Regions from separate parts of the Homo sapiens genome. Here regions 1 and 2 are each linked to region 3. Evidence: promoter capture Hi-C in 16 types of primary human blood cells and fetal thymus (Javierre and others, 2016). All regions are on one chromosome and are shown on one strand. Each heading gives the region's core, a stretch centred on a gene start or on the middle of the fragment in contact. The rest is flanking DNA. Distances are from core to core; before and after follow the strand shown. Region 1 holds the start of OR5M10 (olfactory receptor family 5 subfamily M member 10). Region 2 holds the start of OR5W2 (olfactory receptor family 5 subfamily W member 2). Region 3 holds the start of OR5T3 (olfactory receptor family 5 subfamily T member 3).

Region 1 (2,700 bases), core at 20-2,519, 330 kb after region 3:
ATATTCAAAGGGGTTGGATTTTCAGAGTTTCTCTCAGGCTAAGTTAGTTAAAAGTTTACCCCCAAGTAAGTAAACCCAGTATTTTCATACAGAATTATTAGAAACCAAACAATTTATATTCATAGAATCTCTGACAAATAAAACATTATTAATTTCAACATTAAGCTTTTTATTTTTAAAAACTAAATCTTCAAAGTGTTAATTTTGAGAAGAAACTAAAGTGGTTACTAAGAGCCCATACTGTTAAATAATAACTACACTAGGTTTTTCCATTTCAGTTTGTTACCCCACAGGCACTTAGGGATTACAAATAAACACAGGCCTAAACTGCAATTTTACAAAAGGATTTTCCCCTAATCATTTGTTGTATGGCAAGGATTACATCTCTGTTCCGTAGGCTATAGATCAATGGGTTCAGCATTGGGCTCAAAAAAGTATAAAAGACTGCAATTATTTTGGACTCCTCTACAGACTTCTCTGATGGAGGCCTTACGTACATGCAGAAGAGGGTTCCATAAAACAAAGTGACTATTGTCAGGTGGGAAGCACACGTAGAAAAGGCTTTGTGCCTGCCTTCAGCAGAACGGATCCTGAAGATCGCTGCAAAAATGAAAAGATAGGACAGAAGAATGATGAAGAGAGAGCTTGAGAGAGTAAAGCCTGCAACTACAAACATTGCCATCTTTTTGACACGGGTGTCAGAGCAGGCCAGCATGATAAGAGGAGGATCAGCGCAGTAGAAATGATTGATTTCAAGGGAGCCACAGAAGGATAAGTGAAAGGTCAGCAGTGTCTGAGAGAGCCCATTAAGGAAGCCATACATGTAAGGCACAGTGACCAGAGAGATGCAAATGTTCTTGGACATCCTGGAACTGTAATGTAAAGGGCTGCAAATGGCTACATAGCGATCCAATGCCATTGAAGCAAGGAAGTAAAACTCAGTGATCACTAGGGCGATGAAGAGAAGACACTGTGTGAAGCATCCAGCGTAGGAGATGGTCTTCTGTTCTGAGAGGAAATTGTGCAGCATATTTGGAGTAACATTGGAAGAATAGCAAATGTCTACAAAGGAGAGGTGACCAAGGAAGAAATACATGGGTGTTTGCAGTTGGGAATTGGTCCTGATCAGCAGGATCATGCACAGGTTGCCTGCCAGTGTGATTAGGTAGATCGCCAGGAACACCCCAAACAGGATCTTCTCTAGCACTGGGTCGTCTGTCAGTCCTAAGAGAATGAATTCTGTCACTATGGTGTGGTTTGGGGACAACATCTTCTTATTTCTTGAAAACTGAAAGTGACAAAGAATGTGAGGATTCTCTCTGATCCAGATTTGGCATTTGTTTCATCCATTTATCATTCACTCATTCATCTATTCATCTAGGCACCAATTACTTTTTTCAATAAACACATCAGAATTTCTGCACAACGTTTTCTCTTTATATGTGTGTGTTTTCTGTCTCTTTTTGTATCTCAAACCCACACACACACAGGCACATTCTCTATTTCTGTCTCTTATATATATACATTTATAAATTTATACATTAATGCATTTATACTTGTCTTCTTGGTGAATTCTACATTTGGTAATTATTTTCAAGGTTTGTGAGGGAACAAAAAAAACAAAGAAATGAATATCAGATATTAATATTAGCATCATTTAAATAAATAAATGTAGGAAGTCCAATCTTCAGTTTCCCTCCATGTCTGATATCTTATTATTTCAGATACAAAACAGAAGAAAAAAATTAAGGTAGCATTTTCACTTAAAACCTATGACTGTCGGCCGGGCGCGGTGGCTCACGCCTGTAATCCTAGCACTTTGGGAGGCCGAGGCGGGCAGATCACGAGGTCAGGAGATCAAGACCATCCTGGCTAACACTGTGAAACCCCATCTCCACTCAAAATACAAAAAAGTAGCCAGGCGTAGTGGCGGGCGCCTGTAGTCCAAGCTACCGGGAGGCTGAGGCAGGAGAATGGCGTGAACCCGGGAGGCGGAGCTTGCAGTGAGCCGAGATCACACCAGGGCACTCCAGTCTGGGCGACAGAGCGAGACTCCGTCTCAAACAAACAAACAAACAAACAAACAGAAACCTATGATTGTCAGTGAACATTAAATTAGTTAAACTTAGTGCTTGATATATGGCTAAGAATATACAAAACCAAGAACTGTTTTTTCACTTTGAAATTTTACCTGCCTGTTTATTCATGTACACTGACTGCATAGCTTGATTTTTTTGTGTGTATTACAATTCCTGGGGTTATTGGAGTGAACAAATTTTCCAGTTTCATGGAGCTCACATTATAATATGAGAAATAATGGTTAAACCCACAGAGAAAGATACATATTATAATTTCAAGTAAAAGCTGGGTCTGTGAAGAACAATGAATGTGAGATTCTTTTAGATGACTATTCAAAGTAGCCTTTTCTGAGAATGCAACATTTGAACAGTAAATAAACAATTATAGCACCTGAAGGAAGAGAGTGAAGTTTTTTTGTCTCCATTTATATGCCACTAAACTACTTATTAAAATATTGTTAGAGAATCACAGAACATTGTTAAAAGCAGTCTTTGCTGCCAACTCAAGCCACTCTCTCTGAGTTCTTCATGAAAATAAGCTATGACTGTAAAAATTATTGCTCAAAAATTTGCACCCTAAAGAAATTGCTTATTTAGCTCTCACATATACATCAGAGGAGCT
Region 2 (2,700 bases), core at 155-2,654, 340 kb before region 3:
AACACAAAAATTAGCCGGGCCTGGTGGCAGGCACCTGTAATCCCAGCTACTCGGGAGGCTGAAGCATGAGAATCACTTGAACCAGGGAGGCGGAGGTTGCAGTGAGCCGAGATTGCACCACTACACTCCAACCTGGGCAATAGGGTCAGATTCCATCACAAAAAAAAAAAGAAAAGAAAAAAAGAAAAATTACTCTGAAATATATATTAAACAAATAAAAATTTGCCCCACTAACTCAAAGACTGGAGCATTTTTCAAATATAGAGAAATTACCTTACCTAAATTGAAAACACATTAAAAAAATAGCATATTTAGACAATTCCAGAGAATTGCTAGATTGTGGCTGAGTAAAATATGTATTATATTAAATTAGGGTATTTGAGACAACTTTATGTTATAATATATAATTTGAAGAAAACACCAGTATGAATATGCATTTTTGTGTGTATAAACATGTATTTTTACTATTTCCTTAAAATAAAATTTTATTTTTCAGTTTTTTCAGGGCCTCTTTCACATCCTTGTTCCTCAGGCTATAAATCAGGGGGTTCAACATGGGAACCACAAGGGTGTAAAACAATGAGGTCATTTTATCTTGATCTAGAGAATAGGAAGAACTTGGCCGGAAATACATAAAGAGCAGAGTTCCCTGGAAAATTGCAACCGCAGATAAGTGGGAAGTGCATGTAGAGAGAGCTTTGAACCTCCCCTCAGCAGAGTGTATCTCCAAGACTGATAGGATGATATAACAATAAGAAATGAAAACTCCTGAAATGGTACTCAGTTCAATAAAACCAAAGACGGTGAATAACACTAACTCATTGACCTGTGTATCTGAGCGAGAGAGTAATAAGAGAGGAGGGATATCACAGAAGAAATGATTAATCTCATTAGACCCACAGAAGCATAGGCGGAAGGCCAGTGTCATATGTATCAAAGCATCTGCTATTCCCACCAGATAAACCCCAGTCAAGAGTAGATAGCACACTCTGCTAGACATGTTGACTGTATAGAGCAGGGGGTTGATGATGGCCTTGTACCGATCAAAGGCCATCACTGACAGCAGTAGACACTCAGAATCTGCAAAGATACAGAAGACCAAGAATTGCAGAGCACAGCCATAGAAGGGTATTGACTTGTTCTTGGCAAGTAGATCTACCAGCATCTTGGGCCCAGTTGCAGTAGAATAGCAGAGATCACAGAAAGACAGATGACTGAGGAAGAAATACATTGGTGTGTGAAGTTGGTAATCCATTCTGATTAAAACTATCATTCCAAGATTTGCTGAGAAATTAATGATATAAACAGCCAAGAATACAGCAAATAGGGTCACTTTCATCTCTGGGTTATTGGTAATTCCCAAGAGAAAAAAATCAGTTAATGAGGAGCAATTTTCCCAGTCCATTCTTCCTTGTTCTTGTTTCAAACTGCTACAGAAATCATTACGAGAATGACAGTCTAGAACTTGACTTTCCAAGATATCAAAAAAAAAATTATCTGTAAAGTAGAACAAGATTTGTTTATGTAAATTATCTTCTTTACCCTCAAAAAGTATCCCAGGTGAGTGTCACTTTCAAAGAGGCATTATTACTGTATTAAAAAAAAAAAACCCTAAAAGTGTCTGCCAAAGGAAGTTGATCAACTTTGAATCTAAACTTACATGCAATTTCTGACATATATCATTTGTCTTTGCTTCTATTGTACAATCTAAGGCAGTCAATTTGATTAAACTGAAAGCTCAGTACAGATCCAAAAGGATGTGAAAGAAACACCATAGTTAGAGTCACAAGGGCCAGAACATACCGGACTAAGCATCTCATATATTTGACAAAAAAGGATCATATTTATTGCATTATTCAAGAAATATATACATTTTTCTACCACTGACAGTGATATTACATGTAAGTTAATAAGAGAAAATTATTATGGTACTGTTTTTGATGTGGTGTCGTTAGTGCTTACTGGAAAAGAAAAATGTTTTATTTAACTGTTACTCATCATCACTGGTTTGTCACAGCATTTATAATCCATTTGGATGACTTATCTGGTTCTAAAAAACAAAAGCCAAATGTAAGTGGTAAAAGAAGTGTGAACAACAGACTACTTATATTTGCTTATAATTGACTTTTTCATTAAAATCAAAATGTGAAGAACAATAAGTGTTTCTGAAATATATAGGCTTCTGTTGCTTGTGTTATATGTGCACTTACTCTTGTGTGTGTGTGTGTGCCTGTGTGTGTCTGTTATATGAAAATTGAAATGTGGGGTGGGTCTGATTGTTATTTCTTCTAGACTTAAATATTATGGCATGTACCTTAAGAACTTGAATTTTCATAAATTAATATCTGTAATGTGTTACCTCTATTATTATTTGAGTAAATCTAGAACCTATCTTAAATTTACATCTAAAATAATATCACAGGTACAGTGATTTTTTAAAGTAATGATTTACTTATGAAGGTTGATTAAAATATAAATGGGTGAAATCTATATTATCCTCTTACAATGACAAGTAAGGTCAGTCAAATTCACACAGATCCAATAAGAAAATATCATTGTTTGGCCATTAGATTCCAGAGGTGCTTCAACTGAGTAAGCATCTATAAAATCATTCATTTGTAAATTCCTTAATACATGATTTCTTATTTTTCCAAAATTTTTCCTCTGTCCTTTAAATTGATCATTCAGAAACCTACCTGA
Region 3 (2,700 bases), core at 200-2,699:
GGTTTTAGTCTTATTTGTTCATTCTCTTCTTAATGTGTGGTCATCTTAACATGACAAAATTTTGGTATGTCTCACATCATGAATATAAATCATTTGTAAGTCACTGAATTCAGAATGGACCTGCATATGACAGAGTTGTCACCCCTTTTAAAACTTTCATAATCTATGACATGATAAAAGAAAAACAAAGTCACCTTGCTTAAATCTCCCCTCTAATTTTACCTCTAAATTTAGTGTATGTAGTACTAAACCGTTTCAATAACAGGTTTTCAGTCTAGATACAGAAGTCCCTGTAACCTTGTTACCTTTTTTCTTTTAATTATTTATTTATTTTTGGTTGTGTAATTGTCTTTCTTCATACTTGTCAATGTGAAACAGAATGATACCATCAGGAAAGAAGTCCAGAGGACAAACACTACTTTCTTGCAAATATAGTAATGTTATTTTTTAGCCAGATATTCTATAATTTTTATTAGTTATTATTGGTGATTTTTATTTCATAGTAATTTTAGAAACTCTAAAAGCAACTATAATATACTAAAAGAATGGCCATGATTTATTTTTAACAGAAATATAAAATAAAATAAAATAAAATACATCCAAGGACTTTGCAAAAATAACAAACATATGAATTATTAGTAAGATATATCTCACATTGTTATTAAGTTGAAATTTAAAAACAGTTATGATAAACAAGGTACAGAGGCCAAAATTTGCCAACTAGGTGATATATATTTCAGGAAGAAAAAATCCTGAAAATAAAACACATTGTAATGTTTGTAAAGGTACGTCTATCTCCAGAATACAGTCTGCTCTTCTATGTAATGGAACAAGATAATTGCCAGAACAGAGGACATGAAATGGTTTTATTTAAAAAGGCTGCTGCATGCGACAAGTTGAAATGTATGTCTGACTTATCCCCATTTTCTAGTCATTTGGAAGCCTTTTAAATTAAATAGTTTTGATATTTTTAAACATTTAAATTCAACTGTGCTGTGAGTGTGGTTTCTCTTATTTTAAAATTGTGAACATTTACAAAAGACATTTCATGTACTTCATCACAAATCTAAAAGTGTACTCAAGTGTGTGCTTTCCACTATAACATATTTAGTTTTAAATATTTCTACATTCAGCAATCTTTGTGAGCTTTAGGACATAATATGAGAGGAAGCAGTAAAAATTTCAACTGAAAATTAACTGGAAAATAAAATCACTTTAATTAGCAGGGTTTTTTAAAAACATGATAAATTTAGCCAAGAAATTAATTACATATTTTTTTTCCTTTTACTTATACAGTGAAATTCATCTATTTGGCTCCAATTACTTCATCATTGTCTATTCCATTACTATCAGGGAAATTATTATGCCCCAAGAAAAAAACAAGGATACAATTGAATGGACTCCACTTTCACAGGCTATAACCTTTATAACCTGCAAGTAAAAACTGAAATGGACAAGTTGTCATCAGGTTTGGATATATACAGGAATCCACTGAAGAACAAGACTGAAGTCACCATGTTTATATTGACAGGCTTCACAGATGATTTTGAGCTGCAAGTCTTCCTATTTTTACTATTTTTTGCAATCTATCTCTTTACCTTGATAGGCAATTTAGGGCTGGTTGTGTTGGTCATTGAGGATTCCTGGCTCCACAACCCCATGTATTATTTTCTTAGTGTTTTATCATTCTTGGATGCTTGCTATTCTACAGTTGTCACTCCAAAAATGTTGGTCAATTTCCTGGCAAAAAATAAATCCATTTCATTTATCGGATGTGCAACACAGATGCTTCTTTTTGTTACTTTTGGAACTACAGAATGTTTTCTCTTGGCTGCAATGGCTTATGATCACTATGTAGCCATCTACAACCCTCTCCTGTATTCAGTGAGCATGTCACCCAGAGTCTATGTGCCACTCATCACTGCTTCCTACGTTGCTGGCATTTTACATGCTACTATACATATAGTGGCTACATTTAGCCTGTCCTTCTGTGGATCCAATGAAATTAGGCATGTCTTTTGTGATATGCCTCCTCTCCTTGCTATTTCTTGTTCTGACACTCACACAAACCAGCTTCTACTCTTCTACTTTGTGGGTTCTATTGAGATAGTCACTATCCTGATTGTCCTCATTTCCTGTGATTTCATTCTGTTGTCCATTCTGAAGATGCATTCTGCTAAGGGAAGGCAAAAGGCCTTCTCTACATGTGGCTCTCACCTAACTGGAGTGACAATTTATCATGGAACAATTCTCGTCAGTTATATGAGACCAAGTTCCAGCTATGCTTCAGACCATGACATCATAGTGTCAATATTTTACACAATTGTGATTCCCAAGTTGAATCCCATCATCTATAGTTTGAGGAACAAAGAAGTAAAAAAGGCAGTGAAGAAAATGTTGAAATTGGTTTACAAATGAAGAATATATTTAAAATTGAGTAAACCTGAAAAAAATGTTGAGTGTCAGAGTTCACATCTCTATATTTTAGTTAAAGTATTTGCATATCAAAGAATAGTTTCAAAAAAGCATTAAGCAGCCTGCCAATGCAGCATTTTTCAAATGTAAACAAATTGCATCACATATTTGCCAATTAATTTGTTCAGAGATCTATATTAAATATTATTTGATATAAATATATTGTTATTGTTACCAACCACACACTACTAACAACAGCTTTCACAGTAAGTAAAAATCAGTTAC

What was found. The method cuts DNA at HindIII sites, captures the fragments that hold promoters and counts their contacts. A CHiCAGO score of 5 or more calls a contact.
Region 1: the fragment with the promoter of OR5M10 here is called in contact with the fragment with the promoter of OR5T3 in region 3 in 5 of 17 cell types (M0 macrophages, erythroblasts, total B cells and 2 more); the score reaches 6.0 in M0 macrophages.
Region 2: a contact is called between the fragment with the promoter of OR5W2 here and the fragment with the promoter of OR5T3 in region 3, in 5 of 17 cell types (non-activated CD4 T cells, erythroblasts, M2 macrophages and 2 more). The highest score is 7.4, in non-activated CD4 T cells.

The regions. Positions count from the first base shown.
Region 1 is chr11:56,576,452-56,579,151 of GRCh38, forward strand. It overlaps OR5M10 (olfactory receptor family 5 subfamily M member 10), which reads right to left and starts at 1,270. Exons shown (of 1, transcript NM_001004741.1): 1 at 323-1,270. The coding sequence starts at 1,270. The coding sequence ends at 323. The HindIII fragment of the contact is 7,953 bases long and covers 164-2,700 here.
Region 2 is chr11:55,913,178-55,915,877 of GRCh38, forward strand. OR5W2 (olfactory receptor family 5 subfamily W member 2) reads right to left here and starts at 1,405. Exons shown (of 1, transcript NM_001001960.1): 1 at 473-1,405. The coding sequence starts at 1,405. The coding sequence ends at 473. The HindIII fragment of the contact is 7,753 bases long and covers 1-2,700 here.
Region 3 is chr11:56,250,805-56,253,504 of GRCh38, forward strand. OR5T3 (olfactory receptor family 5 subfamily T member 3) reads left to right here and starts at 1,450. Exons shown (of 1, transcript NM_001004747.2): 1 at 1,450-2,418. The coding sequence starts at 1,450. The coding sequence ends at 2,418. The HindIII fragment of the contact is 3,630 bases long and covers 1-2,700 here.